Regions from separate parts of the Homo sapiens genome. Here region 2 is linked to region 1. The links are contacts of gene promoters, found by promoter capture Hi-C in human tissues and cell types (Jung and others, 2019). All regions are on one chromosome and are shown on one strand. Each heading gives the region's core, a stretch centred on a gene start or on the middle of the fragment in contact. The rest is flanking DNA. Distances are from core to core; before and after follow the strand shown.

Evidence for each region. Contacts are between HindIII fragments. The study calls those that stand out against the background at their distance.
Region 2: a contact is called between a fragment that was not itself captured here and the fragment with the promoter of OR1N1 in region 1, in 2 of the 25 tissues and cell types used here (IMR-90 fibroblasts and mesendoderm cells).

The regions. Positions count from the first base shown.
Region 1 is chr9:122,524,376-122,528,599 of GRCh38, reverse strand. It overlaps OR1N1 (olfactory receptor family 1 subfamily N member 1), which reads left to right and starts at 1,307. Exons shown (of 1, transcript NM_012363.1): 1 at 1,307-2,242. The coding sequence starts at 1,307. The coding sequence ends at 2,242. It also overlaps a transcript of OR1J2 not described here. The HindIII fragment of the contact is 9,333 bases long and covers 1-4,224 here.
Region 2 is chr9:122,604,682-122,608,769 of GRCh38, reverse strand. It overlaps the pseudogene OR1H1P. Among named protein-coding and RNA genes, the nearest start is that of OR1Q1, 8.0 kb to the left of the region's middle. The HindIII fragment of the contact is 3,849 bases long and covers 1-3,329 here.

The DNA.
Region 1 (4,224 bases), core at 58-2,557:
TTTAGACGGAGTCTTGCTCTATTGCCCAGGCTGGAGTGCAATGGCATGATCTCGGCTCACTGCAACCTCCAACTCCCAGGCTCAAGTGCTTCTCCGGCCTCAGCCTACCAAGTAGCTGGGATTACAGGCACATGCCACCACACCCGGCTAATTTTTGTATTTTTAATAGAGATGGGGTTTTGTCATGTTGGTCAGGCTGGTCTTGAACTACTGACCTCAGGTAGATCCGCCTGCCTCGGTCTCCCAAAGTGCTGGGATTACAGGCATGAGCCACTGTGCCCAGCCGGGATCAGGATTTTAAATAAGCATCTCACTTGATTATGATAAACTGGTCTACAGACCAATGCTTGAGACCTCTGGGCCAGGTGATCTTTCAGGTTCTATCTAGTTCTTAAATTTCGTTGTTCTTCTGTAAAACACACATATAAAAGATAGTAAAGGCAAGTGAGACTAAATACGTTAAACTAAGAATACTGAGGGATTAAATATAAATGTGGTCCTAGAAAGTTACTTTCTATCTATATTGACTGATGGTACAGTCTCTGGAAACCATTGCTGTGGGTTTGAATTCTGTCTCAAATATTTATGAGCTCTGGGTCCTTGTACAATTTACTTAAACATCCTTAGACTCAGTTTTCTTATATAAGGGTAAGAATAACAATCTCTGCATCCTAGTGTTGTTTAAGGATTAAAGGAAACAATCTTCATAAAGTACTTAGTAGAGTACCTGTCATATATGTGGCTAACATGTAATATGCGTTAGCTACAGGATGATGATGATGCCAATGACAAAAACTCAAATGCAGGGAGAAATGCAGGACTTCGTATTTTCTTTTTCAAAAGAAATAATGAAAAAATAAAGAGGCATGAGTCCTTCATATGCCCTTCACTCTAAAATGAATGAGGATGTGTCAAAATTAAGAATTTTGTGTGGGTTTTTTGGCTACCTCCCAAAAGAATGTAAAATTTAGCTGACCTCAGTCTACTCACATAGACAGCCTACTGCAAAAATGAAACTAACATGAGGCTATAGACTAGTCTAAGGCATGGTCATGCCAAGGGAGAATATGCCCTGACCTTATTGGAAGGGGACTCTATGTGTAAAAGATTAAATAGTGGTAAAGAGAGGAGAAAGGGGGAAAATGAGACTCTGATGAAGAGAGAAAAGAAGCAGGATCAGAATGAAGATAAAGTCAGGATTAGGAATATAATGAACTTAAAGGGAGATTTGGGAGTCAGCCCACACAGTTGTAGATGAAATCTAGCATTCTAACTGTCTTCCCTCAGCTCCAGATGCTGCAGAGTCATGGAAAACCAATCCAGCATTTCTGAATTTTTCCTCCGAGGAATATCAGCGCCTCCAGAGCAACAGCAGTCCCTCTTCGGAATTTTCCTGTGTATGTATCTTGTCACCTTGACTGGGAACCTGCTCATCATCCTGGCCATTGGCTCTGACCTGCACCTCCACACCCCCATGTACTTTTTCTTGGCCAACCTGTCTTTTGTTGACATGGGTTTAACGTCCTCCACAGTTACCAAGATGCTGGTGAATATACAGACTCGGCATCACACCATCTCCTATACGGGTTGCCTCACGCAAATGTATTTCTTTCTGATGTTTGGTGATCTAGACAGCTTCTTCCTGGCTGCCATGGCGTATGACCGCTATGTGGCCATTTGCCACCCCCTCTGCTACTCCACAGTCATGAGGCCCCAAGTCTGTGCCCTAATGCTTGCATTGTGCTGGGTCCTCACCAATATCGTTGCCCTGACTCACACGTTCCTCATGGCTCGGTTGTCCTTCTGTGTGACTGGGGAAATTGCTCACTTTTTCTGTGACATCACTCCTGTCCTGAAGCTGTCATGTTCTGACACCCACATCAACGAGATGATGGTTTTTGTCTTGGGAGGCACCGTACTCATCGTCCCCTTTTTATGCATTGTCACCTCCTACATCCACATTGTGCCAGCTATCCTGAGGGTCCGAACCCGTGGTGGGGTGGGCAAGGCCTTTTCCACCTGCAGTTCCCACCTCTGCGTTGTTTGTGTGTTCTATGGGACCCTCTTCAGTGCCTACCTGTGTCCTCCCTCCATTGCCTCTGAAGAGAAGGACATTGCAGCAGCTGCAATGTACACCATAGTGACTCCCATGTTGAACCCCTTTATCTATAGCCTAAGGAACAAGGACATGAAGGGGGCCCTAAAGAGGCTCTTCAGTCACAGGAGTATTGTTTCCTCTTAGATGTGGTGACAGCAACATTTAATGAAAAGACATAGGCTTGGAGTCAGACAAACGGGCTTCATTTTGGGGTCTACCACACACTAGCCATAAGATTGTAGTCTGGTTACTTAGCCTCTCTGAGCCTTGGTTTTCTCATTTATAAAATGGAGATAACAGTTTCTATCTAATAATGTAACTTGGAGGATTAACTGAAATAAACTATGAAATGCATTCAGTATAGTAGTGAATAACAGTAGGTGTTCAATAAGGGATAGCTATTATTATTACTATTAGTATTCTTCATTCCTCCCCCAACTCAGAAGTCAAAAAATCTTTTCTCTGAGATATATTTGTTCAATAAATATTTACTATCTATGGTGTGTTGGAAGTTATTGTAAGTGCTAGGGTTATGACACTGAGCAAGACAAAGTCCCTGCTTTCATGACACTTTCATTCTAGGTTATTAATTTGTCGATCATTAAAATTTTGGGGGCACTTGTTTTGTTTGTGGCATTAAGTGGGGAGTAAGACAAAAGAAATAAAGATGGAGGCTGCATTCCATGTGCTGCAGAATAGCTAAAGAGATCCCCATCAAAAGGTTCAAATTCAATGTTTAGGTTTCCATGCGGGTTGCCCACCCCACGGTTGGCTAATGTTTCACTAGGAAGGGGGTTAAAGCTCCTTGTGCTACCTCTGCCCCATGCTGGTCAGAAACGTGCAATGCCACCATCCTTTTAGTGACTATTAGATGAGAGGAACGTGGAAATCCTCTCTCCTTATTTGACTGCAGGTTTGCGTCCACATCTAAAAGGGGCACCAGCAGCTTAAATTAGTTGCAGAGATGGAAAAAATGATGTTTGAAGGTAAATGGCATTCTATCTGTCTCCAAGAATCTTAGAAATATTAAAAATATTATTTTAAATATAAGGGCTATATAGTTTTGATTTCTTACATCTGGTATCACCAGGTGTCCACTGGCTACCTAAACTCCTTCCTCATTTAAGTTTGTTTCTCAGACCTAACCTATTCTAAAATGTTTTATGATTGCTGCACTTTTTCAATGAATACTTATGGAGCATCTTTCATGGAATCAAACTGTTCCAGGCTTCAGCTATTAGTAAGTACAAATGTGAATCATTTAGATGCCACATCTTAGTACGCGAGGATTCCATTTATTTCATGACCTGGAACTGGAAGTCTGTTCTTCTCTCTAGAACTCCTTTCCAGATGTTCCCTCAGAGAGTCCTTGAATGGGATGAGCAGGGCATCGTCATGTAACCAGAGCTGGAGATGGTTGCAAACTTGGAGTTCTCCTGCCCTCATCTCCTTAGTCTACAACTCTCCTTCCATTCTGTTGACATCTATCGCTCCACTGACCAAAGACCACTGACAGTCTCCTCCAAGCCATTGACCTCTAGCTTTCTTCTATCATTTGAACTGGCAATGGACTATCCTCCACTTCTCATGATCAGCTCTTTCAGAAGAGGGTCTCCTAGGAGAGCTCTAAGGCCCCTGATGACACAGCTAGTGGACATGAGGAAGCCTGAGGTGTGAGATCACCAGATACAGCCTCACACTATATCTGAAACCTATGTCCACCCTGATACCCTAAATCTGCTGCTCAGATTCACCCAATCAACTTTACCTTCTTTACTCATGGTGTCTATGTCGCCTTCTGGTTTCATTCACCATTCTGATCCTCAGGGACCCTCAATCCACTCACTGATAGTGCGGTAAATTTATGAATCCTGTTTGGGTATGGTTTAAGTTCTTTCTCACAGGCCCCAAGCAAACTAGAAGATGTGACTGGGTGTCCACTTCAGTTTACTTAATATAATTCTGTGGCCGTTAGGAGTTAGGTCAGCACTCAGCATACAAAGATTCATCAACGGACACTGTTGCCTATCACTGTTCAATAGTCTAACATTCCTCGATTCCAGCCAGCCAAGAGTTATCAATGTATTCAAAGTTCCAAACTTATTCCTCCTTTGATATACAGTCAT
Region 2 (4,088 bases), core at 156-2,655, 80 kb before region 1:
AGTGCCCCCTTCATATCCCTGTTCCTCAGGCTGTAGATGAAGGGGTTCAACATGGGAGTCACCACCGTGTACATGACTGAGAAGACTCTGTCCTTTCCATCTGAGTGGGATGATGGAGGACATAAATAGACACCGATAGCTGTGCTATAGAACAGAGAGACTACAGAGAGGTGGGAAGTGCAGCTGGAGAAGGCCCTTTGCTTACCCCTTGGGGAATCAATTCTCAGGATGGCCAATGCAATGTAAAAGTAGGACATAAGGATGCAGACAAAGGGCGCAATCAGCAGTGTTCCTGCCACAAGGATGAGCACCAGATCATTGACACAAGTACTGGAGCAGGCCAGCTTCAGGAGTGGGACCAGATCACAGAAGAAGTGAGGGATAATATTTGGACCACAGAAGGAAAGCCTGGTCACTAGGAGGGTATGCACTAGGGCATGTAAAATAGTGATCACCCATGACACAGCCACCAACAGGACACAGCGTTGGGAGTTCATGGTTAGGGCATAATGGAGAGGATGGCTGATGGCCACATAGCGGTCAAGGGCCATCACAGCCAGGAGAAAGTTGTTGTCCAGATCTGCAAATAGGCCAGAGAAATAGAGTTGTGTCAGACACTCCCCATAAGAAATCAGCTTAATTCCTGAGCTAATATGATCTAGCATATTGGGAATTATTGTAGAGATAAAGCCAATATCCAAAAAGGACAGGTTGGACAGGAAGAGGTACATGGGGGGTGTGGAGGTGCAGGTCAGAGCCAATGGCCAGGATGATTAGCAGGTTCTCCAACACAGTGACCAAGTACATGACCAGGAAAAGCCCAAACAAAAGAGCCTGCTGCTCCTGGTGTTCAGAGAAGCCCATGAGAAGAAATTCATAGATGCAGGTCTGGTTTCTTCTGTCCATGTCTCAAATTCTGTGTGAAATACATTTTGTTATAAGTAGCAAAAGAGTAAAATAATGCTGTGTTAAAAGTACTTCAAACTCCTGTTTGAAAAAATTCTGTGGTTAAATAATTCTGTTTTGAGAAAGCTTGGATTTATTATTGTGCATGTTAAAAAGTTTGGGTCAGACCATTTGTCAAGTTATCGATTGGTGTCAGTATTTGATAAGATATCTAAGGCTCCTTTGAACTATTTCAGCTGTCCATATGATACATATCAGCCACCAGTAAAAGTGTGCCTTGGATTGTACATGTCCTATCTGTTTACACAAGTACTTTTCTCTTAGTAATAATATAATTAAGTAAAAAATGTAAAATACCAGAACAGTGTGTATACGCATAGTTACAGTTAAGTAAAAATGAAACAGAAATATTTGTGTATGAATAAGAACACAATCTAGAAGAACACACTCAAAAGATGGATAATGTTTGCTTCTAGGGAGTGAGTGTGGGGGGAAGAATGGTGGGTGTCAACTTCTGTATGACACACACCATTTCTTTTACTAGCATGTGTTATTTTTGAAAGTAAAAGATTATTTTTAAGTGTGATGGATGTGATGGGTTGAACTAATTTAAATGGTGGTCCAGAAGCCAATATGGAGATTTTGAGAGACCCAGAATTCTGACAAGTTAACCAGGGTGTCATCTCTAAAAAGCAGCTCTGGCAAGTAAGTAGAACAAAAATCAAATCATTTGACTTTGTGCAAAGAAAAAAAATTGAAGTTATGGAGCAAGACTTTTTCATCATAGTCACTTTACTTAGAGTAATATTTTGGCTTTCCCTAAGAAAAGCTACAGGAAATGCATTGAATTCTGCTCCAGTATCCCCAAGCATGCCTGGGAATGACACATGCTTTCCCTAACACCTCTGATATACCTCACTCGCAGGTACTCCTCACTCATAAGATAGGTGCTCCTCACTCACAGGTGCTTCTTGCAGGTGCTCCTCACTCATAGATGCTCCTCACTCATAGGTGCTCCTCACTCACAGATGATCCTTACTCAGAGGTGCTTCTCACTCATAGGATAGGTGCTCCTCACTCATAGGATAGGTGCTCCTCACTCACAGGTGCTCCACATAGGATAGGTGGTCCTCACAGGTGCTCCTCACAGATGCTCCTCACTCAGAGGTGCTCCTCACTCACAGGTGCTTCTCCAGTCAGTTTGGCTTCTCCTGGCCCCTTGGATTTAAAAACCTAAACTTTAGATGGTCTATTCCAGCTCCTGAACCCTTCCTTGCCTTATTATATTTATTTATGAGATTTATATATTTTACATCTAAATAGAAGGTGTCAAATCCTTCATTTGCCCCCAAAGCCACACCTTAATTTGTCTCTAGTGCCGCTCAAAGAATACCTTGATTTGGGACTTGAAATTCCTTTTTTCCCACAGAAGCCATAGTGAGGATATACCAGGATCTCTTAAATAGATAATACTGGACATTAAGTTTATCCAATCCACAGCCCTTGTTCTGACACTATGAAAAAAGTTGGAGTAATAATCATAGCTAATACTGGCTGAGCACTAGCCATTGCCAGGTTCTGAATTCACTTAAGTGATAGCCCTGTGCACCAGCACTGTGAATATCTTTATTTAAAAATGTAGAAACTGAAGTTCAGGGTGGCGATGCAATTGCTGAAGTCTACAGCAGCAGGTATTGAAGTGAAGTTTGTCTGAGTCAAAAGCTTAAGTTCTAAACCACTGTGCTACACTGCCTTTCAATATTCACCAAGTCATTTTCTGACTCTAGTTCAGTCTCATGCATATTTTCTATAAGGAGGGAATGCACCATCAGGGAATTTAAATATCCATTCAATTTGACAGTTGCAGTTCTCAAAGCAAATGAAGATGTGGATATTTTTGGCTTATGCCTCAATCTTTTGTGAACATGATTGACGTGAGTTAGTCTACTTTGGTCCAATCCAATGTCTGGACAAGATCCAATTTTTACACTTGATTTGTACTCTGAGATGGAGCTATCCTGAAAGCAACAGACTCCTTCCTTCCTGGTATCTGTAGCTCCTCTCCCCCTAATTGCAACCAAGTCCAGATTCAGAAGCTAAGCAGATAGCAGATGTACAGTGATAATTTTTGTCATATTCATTTATTTATATCATCTTTACAGTAAGAGTTAGAAACAAGTAACATTTATTCCAGTTTACACTTTTCTTTCCCAAGGGATACACACCTTCAGGTTGCAAGTTTTTATTAAATAATGAATAAAGGAATTTCATTATTTAATAAAAACATGCAGTCCAATTACATTGACTCCAAATAAAATTTTATTAACATGAATTAATGTTCTCAGAATTATCCAGAAATTCTAAGCAAGTAAACTAATAAAACTTAAAACAATTGACTTTGGGGAAAAGGTATGTCATTCGGTTTCAATTTTATTATGATGATAGATACTGTCACATCCTGGTCAGTGGGTTTAAGCTGAAGGTGTGTCTCACAATCATCTGGGGAGCATTTCATTTTTTTTTTTTTTTTTTTTTGAGATGGAGTTTCGCTCTGTTGCCCAGGCTGGAGTGCAGTGGTGCAATCTCGGCTCACTGCAAACTTTGCCTCCCGAGTTCAAGCAATTCTCTGCCTCAGCCTCCTGAGTAGCTCGGATTACAGGCGCTTTCCACCACGCCCAGCTAATTTTTGTGTTTTTATTAGAGACGGGGTTTCACCATCTTGGCCAGGCTGGTCTTGAACTCCTGGCCTCGTGATCCGCCCGCCTCGGCCTCCCAAAGTGCTGGGATTACAGGCGTGAGCCACCGTGCCCAGCCCGTCTGGGGAGCATTTCTTATCCGCTACTCAAAATCTGAACTCTACTGTATCTATACACTTAAAAACAGTGCATTAGACTCACTTATTTGTTTCTGAAGAGAATATTTAGGTTGAACAGTGTAATGGTAAAAAAAACTTTAGTTTGCACTAAGAAAATCTTAATTAGCCTTCTGCATCAAGCCCAATAATATGGGTTTGAATAATTCATTTATTGTCTCTGAAATCTATTATAGTTTCCCTGCCTGTGAAGAAGGGTAAATGAATCCTTGGTTTCTCTTCTCCTGGCCACTTGGATTTAAAAATCTAAGCTTTAGATGGTCTATTTCAGCTCCTAAACCCTTCTTTGTTCTAAAATGGCCTTATTATA